3 separate regions of the Homo sapiens genome follow, and regions 1 and 3 are each linked to region 2. Evidence: promoter capture Hi-C in human tissues and cell types (Jung and others, 2019). All regions are on one chromosome and are shown on one strand. The core of a region is centred on a gene start or on the middle of the fragment in contact, and the rest is flanking DNA. Distances in the headings are between cores, read along the strand shown. Region 1 holds the start of HEYL (hes related family bHLH transcription factor with YRPW motif like). Region 2 holds the start of BMP8A (bone morphogenetic protein 8a). Region 3 overlaps NT5C1A (5'-nucleotidase, cytosolic IA).

Evidence for each region. The method cuts DNA at HindIII sites, captures the fragments that hold promoters and counts their contacts. A contact is called where the count stands out against the background at its distance.
Region 1: a contact is called between the fragment with the promoter of HEYL here and the fragment with the promoter of BMP8A in region 2, in 1 of the 25 tissues and cell types used here (small bowel).
Region 3: a fragment that was not itself captured here is called in contact with the fragment with the promoter of BMP8A in region 2 in 1 of the 25 tissues and cell types used here (hippocampus).

What each region holds. Positions count from the first base shown.
Region 1 is chr1:39,637,909-39,641,283 of GRCh38, reverse strand. HEYL (hes related family bHLH transcription factor with YRPW motif like) reads left to right here and starts at 1,641. Exons shown (of 5, transcript NM_014571.4): 1 at 1,641-1,738. The coding sequence starts at 1,659. RefSeq lists silencers at 1,285-1,674, 1,795-1,864. The HindIII fragment of the contact is 11,489 bases long and covers 1-3,375 here.
Region 2 is chr1:39,489,571-39,493,039 of GRCh38, reverse strand. It overlaps BMP8A (bone morphogenetic protein 8a), which reads right to left and starts at 1,404. Exons shown (of 7, transcript NM_181809.4): 1 at 715-1,404. The coding sequence starts at 1,048. It overlaps LOC124904101 (a long non-coding RNA gene), which reads left to right and starts at 1,492. Exons shown (of 2, transcript XR_007065978.1): 1 at 1,492-2,351; 2 at 2,913-3,469. RefSeq lists silencers at 1,076-1,175, 1,276-1,905. The HindIII fragment of the contact is 32,682 bases long and covers 1-3,469 here.
Region 3 is chr1:39,666,226-39,669,272 of GRCh38, reverse strand. It overlaps NT5C1A (5'-nucleotidase, cytosolic IA), which reads left to right. Exons shown (of 6, transcript NM_032526.3): 2 at 3,037-3,047. Among named protein-coding and RNA genes, the nearest start is that of NT5C1A, 4.4 kb to the left of the region's middle. The HindIII fragment of the contact is 5,410 bases long and covers 1-3,047 here.

The DNA.
Region 1 (3,375 bases), core at 392-2,891, 150 kb before region 2:
TGTGCACTGTATTTTGATGATCCAAGACATCTCACATGAAACGTCCATCACGGGGCCCTTGACCTTCCCCTGCAAATCTGCTCCTCTTCCAATCTTTGCTATCTCAGCCAATTACACAGGGCAGCTATCTGGGAGGCTTCCTTGACTTCCGCCTTTCCAGGGAATGCATAACACATTGTGCAACTTCTCTGTTAGTTGAGGTTTCCACTGACTGGCATGTGCCCACAGAAGTGATGTGAGTGCTGAGGGCATTTGGAATGAGAGTCCATAGTTGTGGCTGGGGCGACCACCAGGGCTTCCTGGTACTGATTGCTCACGACAGTTGCGCCTACCAGTATATATTTGTAAGTCTGTCCGTGTGTATGTGTTTGCATACCTGGCCAAATGGTTGTGTCTGTGGATGTGTGTGGACGGGGGCACAGGAACATTCTTTCCCATCAAGTAATCAAGTGTCCCCCAGCAAGCAGGCCTTGCTGTGGGGATGGAAGCACAGTTATTCTCAGATGACCAACCCGATTCTCCCACTTGAAGGGGTGGCTTCCCTCAGGTCCTGACCTGGTGGCGGGTAAAAAGGAAAAGACCTCTCATATCTAACCCAGCACACCAAGACCTCCTCTATCTCCTCTTCCCTGCCCAAGAAGTCCAGCTCCAGGATGCTCTCATGCAGCTTCCTTTGGAGCCTTAGGAGCTTCTCTGAGGTACTGGGCGCCTGAGGATGACCGGTGAATCTGAGAACTTCCCACAAGTCCCCCTAAGGACAGGGCAGCTAGAGCCCTCCCTGAGTGAACAGTTTGATGGGTTGCCAGAAGCAGAGGCCCCAGGAAGAGAGGCTGGAAGGTATCTTCCCTTTTCCTCTCCTTCTCCCACTTTGAGGCCCTGCCATAGCGTCTAGAAGGAGCCCTTTCCTGGCCTCCTGGCCGCCCAGGACAACTCGACCTCTGGTGAACTGGGAACTGATTCCCAGGGACAACCCACCACTGCCACCACGCCAGGCCTTTAGGGACCTCGGCCAGAGCCCAGCTTTCTCAGATGCGGTGGCCACAACTTCAGCCGTCCCTTTTGGGGGTGACTGCCACCTCTCAGAAGTGTAAGTGTCTTCCCCTTGCCCCCACCACACTATTCCACTTGCTTTGGGCCCCTATGGAGTTGCTGCTGGGGAATTCTTGCTGAGGATCAGGCCACAACCACCACGACTAACTTCGACAAACTTGATGTGTCTGCTGCCTCCAGAACACCAGGAGGCAGGAGCGCGCAGGGTTGACCCTTGCGGAATCCCGGGCATCGAAGCGGCGCCTCTACAGGCCAGCAGCGCCCAGGCGACCCAGGGACAGACGGGGACTCCTGGCTTCCCCGCGGGGCCTCCCAGGGCACCTGCCCAAGGCCACCCAGCGCGCGGCAGCCGAGACAGCGGAGCAGAGCCGGACCTCCCAGCCGTCGATGAAGGCGGCGACCGCCTAGGGCCTTCCCACGGCTCGGCGGCGCGTCACCGCGGGGGCGAGGGGGCGCCTGGGCGCCCGGAGCTGCGGCGCAGGAAAGGGCCCTGGGAAAGGGCGGTGGCGGCGCCCCCGAGGCGGGGCCGGGGCGGGGCCGGGGCGGGGCCTGACTTCCCGACTGGGAGCCTTAGCCGCGGGGCTGAGACCAGGCAGCCTGCGTTCGCCATGAAGCGACCCAAGGAGCCGAGCGGCTCCGACGGGGAGTCCGACGGACCCATCGACGTGGGCCAAGAGGGCCAGCTGAGGTAAGGGCCGGGATGCGGGGACCGAGCAGGCGGAGGGCGAGCGGGGTGGGGGTCGGCCCGACGGGCTCGCCGAGCAGGCGGGCCAGCCCTCCAGCACCGCCTGGGCAGAGGCAGGTGAGCGCGGGGGCCACAGGTGTCGGCGTAGGGGGCGTGTGCGGGCCGTGCCGTTACACGCACGAGTGCCTGGATCCTGCGCGCTCTCGGTCGTGCAGGGCTGGGGATGCTGGCAGGGAGGGAGAGTTCAGCTCGGGGGATCAGGTGGCTAGTGGGTTATCATCTATCTGTTGAAGTGGCCTAGGGGAGGCCATTGGCAGGTTTTCCCTGGAGATCTTAGAAAACTCTCATAGACTGATGGTACTCTGGCCCCTGTCTGGAATCTGCTGACGATGCAGAGTAACCCCATCCTTTCCCAATTTTACCCTAGTTTGGATGCAGTTTTCATGTAGTCCACAAATTATTTCAGGAAGAAGAAAATTTGTCCTCCTTTGAGCAAATTGGAGTTTGGATTTAGGGACTTAGTATTGAAGAAAATAATAAGCGACTTGCAAGGGCCTAGACTCTAATTCCAATGTTCCTCCTATCGTGCCCCCATACTGCCAGTGTCTTTCAGCTCCTGGTAGATAGTCTGACCTGCTTCAAACCTGTCGAACAAACTGCGCTTGTATAGTTCTGCTACCTCGCAGTTCTGTAAACTGTCTAAGCTTCAGTTTCCTTATCTGTTAAATGAGCATGAATAATAGAACCAACTTCATGGAAATATTGGGAAAACCAAATGAGGCAAAGTATGTCAAGGGCTTAGCACAGCACATGCCTAGGTACACACCATGTGATTCCCAGCACCCTGAAAGAGCTGCAGGGCTGACTGGGAGTCTGCAGACCTGGGTCCCAGCCCCAAATCTGCCACCAACTCACTATGTGGTCTTGGGCCATTGGTTTCCCTGACAGAGTCTGTCATCAGTTTCCCCATCAGTAAAACAAAGACAGCAGTGGAAAAGAAAGGGATATACTTCATCTCTCTTGGCTCATCTAGACTTGACTCTCTAGAACAGAATTGGAGGGGAATTCAGTTAATTCTTTCTTTCTTTCTTTTTGACATGGTCTCACTCTGTTGCCCATGCTGGAGTGCAGTGGCATGATCATAGCTCATGGCAACCTTGATCTCCTGGGCTTAAGTGATCCTCCTGCCTTGGCCTCCCAAAGTGTTGGGATTACAGACATAAGCCAGTGAGCCAGGCCCAGTTAATTCTTAGGGATGTTTTTGAGGACATTTTGTAATTTTAGTGCTCTCCAGTTTTCTGAGATCCAAGGATCCTGCCTCAGTCTCAAATCCCAGGAAAATGCCATAATAGATATTCCTCTTGCAGCCTGTACATTTGTTTTTAGGGAGTATAACACAACTCGCTATGCAACGTATTAGCCTTTCTTAATTGTTTAGCAGAAACTGCTATTTAGAAAAGCAGTTATCTTAGCCTGTGCCTGTTAAGGGCCAGGAAAGGGCACAGCACCACGTGGTGGTGGTGGAGCGGGGTCTCAAATTCAATGGCATTGGGTCTTCATAGATCAGAGGCACAAAATTGATGCCAGAGAACTAGGTTGATCAGAGCTGGCTTCTGTCCTCCACAAGTTTGCAGCCCAGT
Region 2 (3,469 bases), core at 155-2,654:
AGCTCCAGGGTTTGATACAAGATGTTTGCAGACAGGAAAAGCCCGGCTTTGCCTGGGAGAACACAGTGGGTCCAGCTGCCCACTGGGCCATTCCACAGGACCGGACACTCACCCTATACCAGGCCACATGCTAAGTGCAGGGCCCAGGGTGACAAGGCCACAGTCCCTGCCCCAGCGAGCTGAGTCTGCTCCTTCCCCAGCCGCTCCCCTGACAGCCGCACCCCACCCAGGCTCCGCACAGGGAAGAGCCTGCTGTGGACTCAGGGCACGCGACTCAGCTCTGGTCACTCCGATGATGTGACCACAGGTTTCCACGCTGAACTTTGTCCCTCTCCTCAGTACTGTCCTTATCACAGTGACAGCATCCCGGCCTCTGTTTACTCACCTGTCTCCCCAGGACCAGGCTGTCTTCCCGGGGCAGCCCAGGTGGGCAAAGACATCACCTAATTCTTACTCCTGGGTGTGTCTGGGGCAGGGTGAAGGCAGCGCCTGGGAGTCCACAGTCCCCCACACTCTGCTCCTGACCACCCCGCAGCCCAGGGGGCCCCCATGACCCTTAGACCTTCCCTAACCACGGCGGTCCCACTCCCCTGTGGTTCGCGTCCACCGTCTGTGATTCCCCGTTCGGCCAGGGCCCGGCACCGCCCGCGGATGCGCGCCCCTCCCCTGCAGCCAGCTTACTCCGAGGGTCCCCGCGCGGGCGGCCGCACTCACCCATGTTGACGAAGCTCATGACCAGGTCGGCGCGGCCCAGGCGCTGCTCCGCGGGCGCGCCGTCCTCGTCGTCGTCGCCAGCCATGGCGTGGTACAGGTCCAGCATGAAGAGCGGCGCGGACGCGGGCAGCCGGGAGGCGGCGGGTGGCGCGCGGGGCCGGGGCCGCCCGGGTAGCCCGAGCACCGCCAGGATCTCGCGCTGCACGTCCCGGCGCTCGCGCGCGCCCAGACGTCGCTGGGGACAGCCGGGCGGGGGTCGCAGGCCGGGGCCGCCCCCGCCCAGCGCGCACAACGTCAGGCCCAGAAGCCAGAGCGGTCCGGGGCGCGCGGCCATGGCGGGCCGGGGGCGCTCAGCGGGCGCACATCAGCTCCGCCGCCGCCCCTGGGCCCGGGGACGCCCCGACGGCGAACGGGGAGCTGAGTTCGGCGAGCAGGGGGCGGGGCTCGGCGGGCGGCGTCTGCGGCCTCAGCGCGGTCCCTGGAGCGCCCCCCGCGCGCACCTGCCCCGGCTCCGGGACAAGCGGACGCTGACGCGGACGCAGACGCCAACGCTTCGAGGCCGGGGCTGTTCTGAGGGCTGGGACTGTCAGCCAATCCGTCTGTCGCCGCCGTTCCCACCAGTCCGGCTGTGGCTGCGGTCCGCGCAGCGCAGGGGCGACCGGCGAGCTCCGGCAGCGACCCGGGCGGCGCGATTCCCGCGAGTCCTTGCCCCGGCTCAGCCGTCTGTGCCGCCCGCCCACCCCCGGGACTGACCAATGGGGGCGCGGGGGCGGGGCCTGGGCGCGGAGGCCGCGCCCGCTAGGAGCCCCGGGCGGCGGCAGGTGTTGCGGGTGGGGCGACCCCGAGGTGCGACCTCGGCGTGGCTGGCGGTTGGTCCGGGCGAGGAGCCCGCAGCCTGGGCGTCAGCGTGGTCAGGGCCGTCGTGGCTCCCGCCGCGGGCCTCGGCGCAGAGATCCTAAGGCCGCGGCGCCGTCCCGGTCCCGCCAGTGGTGCCACCCGGCTGCCTCGCCGTGGTGTGCCGTGGTCGCCACCGGGCCCGACACGCGGCCGTAGCCCCGTCTGGAGAGCCGGGCGGTGCCAGCCAAGCCCCGCGGGTGGGGCCTGTTCCTCTGCCCGCAGCAGCCGGCCCGGGTTCCGGCCACCGCGGCCCCTCACCGCCTCCTGGCGCCTTCCCCGTGGCCCCTGCATGCGCTTCTGCGGGCGCCTCCTTCTCGGCACCTGCTCGGCTGCTTCTCCCTGCGTCCCCCACCTGGCTCCCGCGTGAGCCCAGGCAGCGCCCCAGTCGGGCCGCCCCCGCCAGCCCTAGCTGTGCGCCCTGCGTCCCCGGTACTGATCCAGCTTTGCGGAGGAGGCTCCGCCTCCTGCCTCCAGCTGGGCCAGAAGCTCTGGGGCCCTTCCCGAGCACTCGGGAGCCACCTGTGCACATCTTCTCAGTCCCCACGGCCCCGGTGCAGGCCTGCCAAGAGAAGGATCCCCGCGGAAACGTCTCGACTGACTCAGTCCCTTTCTGCACACCTGCTCTTCCCTGGGCGCGCTCTCGCCTTACTTATTCCTGTGTGGTTCAGGCGCTGCGGAAGGAGAAGGCACCTAGACTGCACTGGGAAGGCTCCTGGAGTTGACCTGGAGCGCCAGGAAAGGTCAGTGGAGGAAAGTGCTCCAGGCAGAGGGAATAGCTTGTGCCAAGGCCCTGAGACCCCGGCTGGGGAGCCTAATAATGGCAACAGTCAGCACTTGCCACGCCAAGGCATGTTCTGAGTGTGTGTCTCGTGTCATTTCTGTGATGCTCGCACATCGTTAGGGGGTACATACCACTGGAACCTCCTCTTTTAATAAATGAGGAAACTGAGGCACACGGCGGTTAAGGGACTTACGCCAGGTCACACAGCAGTGGAGCTGCGCTCGGGCAGGGGGGCAGTGGAAACTGGAGAGCCCAGGGGGCAAACGGCGGAGGCTGGAGGGGCTGGCAAGGGAGGCACCGCAAAGGGCCTCACAGGGGCTAGACGAGGGCCCTGGGCACCAGAGATTATGGTGCCCCGCCATGTGGATTGAAGATTAAACCTCGAAGCAAGTGTATAATGCCCCCAAAAATCACATTTGGAAGTCATCACTTCAATAAAATTTTCTACAACAAATTCTTAATCTAAATAGTCATTTGCTGGTGCCTTAAACACACGCCTAGTTTGTCTTTTACCCAACAGGTATATTTCCACACTGCTCGTAAATTTTCTGCGCGGTCCCCAGAGCGCCCCCCATGAGGCACCTGCATCAGCTCCGGGCAGAGCAGATGTGGATGCCACCGCCTAGAAGCCGGGGCTACCCTGCGGACTGGGACTGTCCCATAAGGATACTGAGCTAAGGATAATGCAGAATAACCGTTGAAAGTACCCAAGACCAGAGCTTGGAAGCAGAGCGGAATATGGATCAGAGGGAGACAGGAGTCAGGGCCCTGCAGTTGGAGGCAGGTACAGCAATCAGATGTGGGGGTGGGTACAATGACCATGAGTCTCTAATGGTGATGGGGTGGAGGGGCAGAGGAGAAAGCTGTTTAGGAGGCTGAATCCACAGGGCTTTGTCCCCATGTCATCTTGGTCAGAGTCTCGGAATCTCCTGCCCACACCCCCTTCACTGTCCTCTCTGCACGCCCCTTTTGAATCCACTGCACATCACTTGAGGCCCTAGATCCAGCCTGTACAATTCTCAGGTTTGTTTTGTGCAATTCTGGGCTCCCAGCTAGACTGCAAGCTGCCCAGTGCTG
Region 3 (3,047 bases), core at 203-2,702, 180 kb before region 2:
TCCTCAGGAAGTCCAGGTGGGGGTGGGCTGCACTCTGTTATTCTTCCATTCCCATCCCCTAGCCGGAGCCATCAGCCTGACCCTGAAAGGCAGAGAGAGCTGCCAGCACCCTGGTTTCCTGGAGCTCAGAGCTCCCAGAGTGAGCCCTTGAGTCACTCTGACCCAATTCCCAGTCTGAGATCAGGGCTTCTTTCTGCTCTCTGGAGGAACTGTTCCTAGATGCCCCTGCCAACACATGGCCACCTCTGCGGCCAGGCCCAGGAGGGTCTCTATGTCCACAACTTGTCCCTATCTCTGGCCAGCCCATTTCACCTGCTCCTTCAGCTCCACCTGGAGCCTGGACAGGTCATTCATCAGTCCCAGCTGGGATCCATATTTCTTACACAGCCATGGCCTCTGGGATCTTAGACTCCACCTCACTCATACTGTGTCACAGCAGTCTAAGTGGGGATGCACAGTCCTGCCCTTGGGACCCCCATTCTGCTGGGAAACAGAGACCTGCCGTTAGAAACCTCAGTTTGTGGGCACGCCCTGATCATTTCTCCCAAATCTGGAAAGTGAAGGCTGGGGGAGATGTTTCCAGGGAAGGCGGAAGTAGCAAGGGATAGAATCTTCTGGGAACTGTTGAGGAGAGGAATAGCAAGGGGACTGCAGTGTGGATAGAGGCCAGGCTAGAGGCCGGAGACTTGAGATGTCATCTTGCTCTGCCTTGACCTAGAGTAACAGGCCCCTTTCTGGGCCTGTTTCCCCATCTGGAAAAGAGAGAAGCAGAGGACTCTTGGGGCCAATGCAACCAGGACGTTTTTCTTGCAACAACCAGGGGCGGGATGGATTGGGGTCTGTCTGGGTAGCTCAGCCAGAGGGAGCCCAGGACTTGGCAGTCTGGCAGGGACTGTGGGACAGAAAGTGAGGAGCGAGACCTTAGCTGGCTGCCAGGGTTGGAGTGGCAGGCTTGGGAACCTGCCTAATGGGGCTGGGAGGGCAGCTGACTCTCTGTCCTTAGAGGGGTGATGGCCCTGTCCCTGGGGCAGTAAGCCCAGTGGGTGGAGCAAGCTCAGCTCCTGTTCCAAAGGCCTCCAGGCTTCCAGGGTTTATGAGAGTGGGTCTCCCCACTCCACCACCAACCCCACCCTTAGGACACACACATGGTGGTAGTCAGCAACTGAGAAAGGTATTTGGGTTGAACCTCCAAGAAGAAGCACCTGTCCTGCCACTGCCTTATGCAGACCTTGCTGGCCACATACACCATCTTGGTTGGGGTTAAAAGTCAAATGCAAACTGAGGTCTACCACATGACCTTGGGGAACTCTTTTGTCTTCCACTCCTATTATAAGGTTCTAAAGCTGCATTTACCACTAGCCACGTATAGCTGTTTAAGTTCATTTAAATGAAGTAAAATCTAAAATTCAGCTCCTCAGTCTCATTAGTCACATTTCAAATTGTTCCACAGCCACAGGGAGAGCACAGATTATGGAATATTTCCATTATCATAGAAAGTTCCATTGGACATTGCTCTTTTAAAAGATGGCATTGGCCTCTGTCTTGGGGTTGGATCATGAGCTCCATGGGGACAGGGATCACACTTGTGTTGTTTCCTGCCATGTCCACCACGGTGTCTCTCAGATGGTAACCACTCAATGTTGTCAACTGATTGGAGCCCAGGACTGACCCCAGGAAGAAGAAATGGGGTTGAGTACATGACCCACGGATGATCAGGAGAGGCAAGAATGCAAGGTGCATTTATGAGCCTTGACCTCAATTTGAGCCCCTCATTTTTAATTTGTAAAGTGGGAATCAGGACCCCAGGACTGCTCAGGACACAGAGATGTGGTGGGATTCTCTGGGTATCTGTAAATCCCTTGGGCACTCATATTCTGATCCTCCCTAGGGACTATAAAGGTCCAGCTGCTGTCTGGGGTGGCGGGTACCTATAGTCCCAGCTACTTGGGAGGCTGAGGCAGGACAATTGCTCGAACCTGAGAGGTGGAGGTTGCAGTGAGCTGAGATCACACCACTGCACTCCAGCCTGGGCAACAAGAGTGAAACTCCATCTCAGAAAAAAAAAAAAAAAAAAAAGAGGGGGAAAGTATGACCTGATGTGAGAAAGCCCAGGTGGGGCAAAGCTAGGGGATTGGAAGAGGGGAATGGAAAGAGAAGTAGGGGTCTGTTGTGAAGGGCTTTCTATTTCCACACTAGAGGCTGCCAGCCATATTCTGAGAATAGTGTGCACCACTAAAGAGGGGGGCTGTGGTCAGATCTGAACTTTAGAAAAATCCCCTGACAGCAGCATGAATGACAGATTAGAGAATGTGACAGATGATGATGGCCTGAACGAAAGAAGTGGGTGGATTCTAGTAGAGTTGACTCATTTCGGTAATCGATTGATGAGGAAGGGAGTTGAGGCTGACTTCCCAGCTTCTGCTTCAGTAATGAGTGGATAGTGGTTCTAAGCCTTGCTATGAGTTACAGGGAGAAGGGATCAGGTTTGGGAGGGGAGAAGGTGATGGGAATTCAGCCTTGGGAATGTTAACTTTGAGAGGCTGTTAGTCAACTGGGGCAGTTAGATGGATGTATGAATCTGGAGCTCAGGAGACAGATCTGGGTTGCAGATACATTTTTTATATAAATTGTCATATTTATGGGCATCATTTCTTCCTAAGGGCATGCAGCTCTTATTTTACAATGGAAACCAACTGAGATCATCTCCAGCATCAGTCACACGTTGGCCACATACATTGGCTTCATTTTTTTCTTGTGTCCAGATGCCTGGCTAGATTGCAAACTCCCAAGGGCATGGCCCTCCCTCCATCAGATTGTGCTTCCAGCAAGGGAGCCAGCACCTCTCTCAACCCCCATCTGGGTCCGTCATAGATGGGGTCCTGACCTAAGTCCACATCTGCTCAAGGCTGGGCCTCTTTAGGTAGAGACTGGGTCTGGGTCTTCTCCATGTCCTCACTACCCAGGGAGACTCACACATGTGAGCCTGCCTCAGGGGCAGTCATCTGAGTGACAACCCCTTCTCCCATACCTCTGCAGCCCAAGCCTCA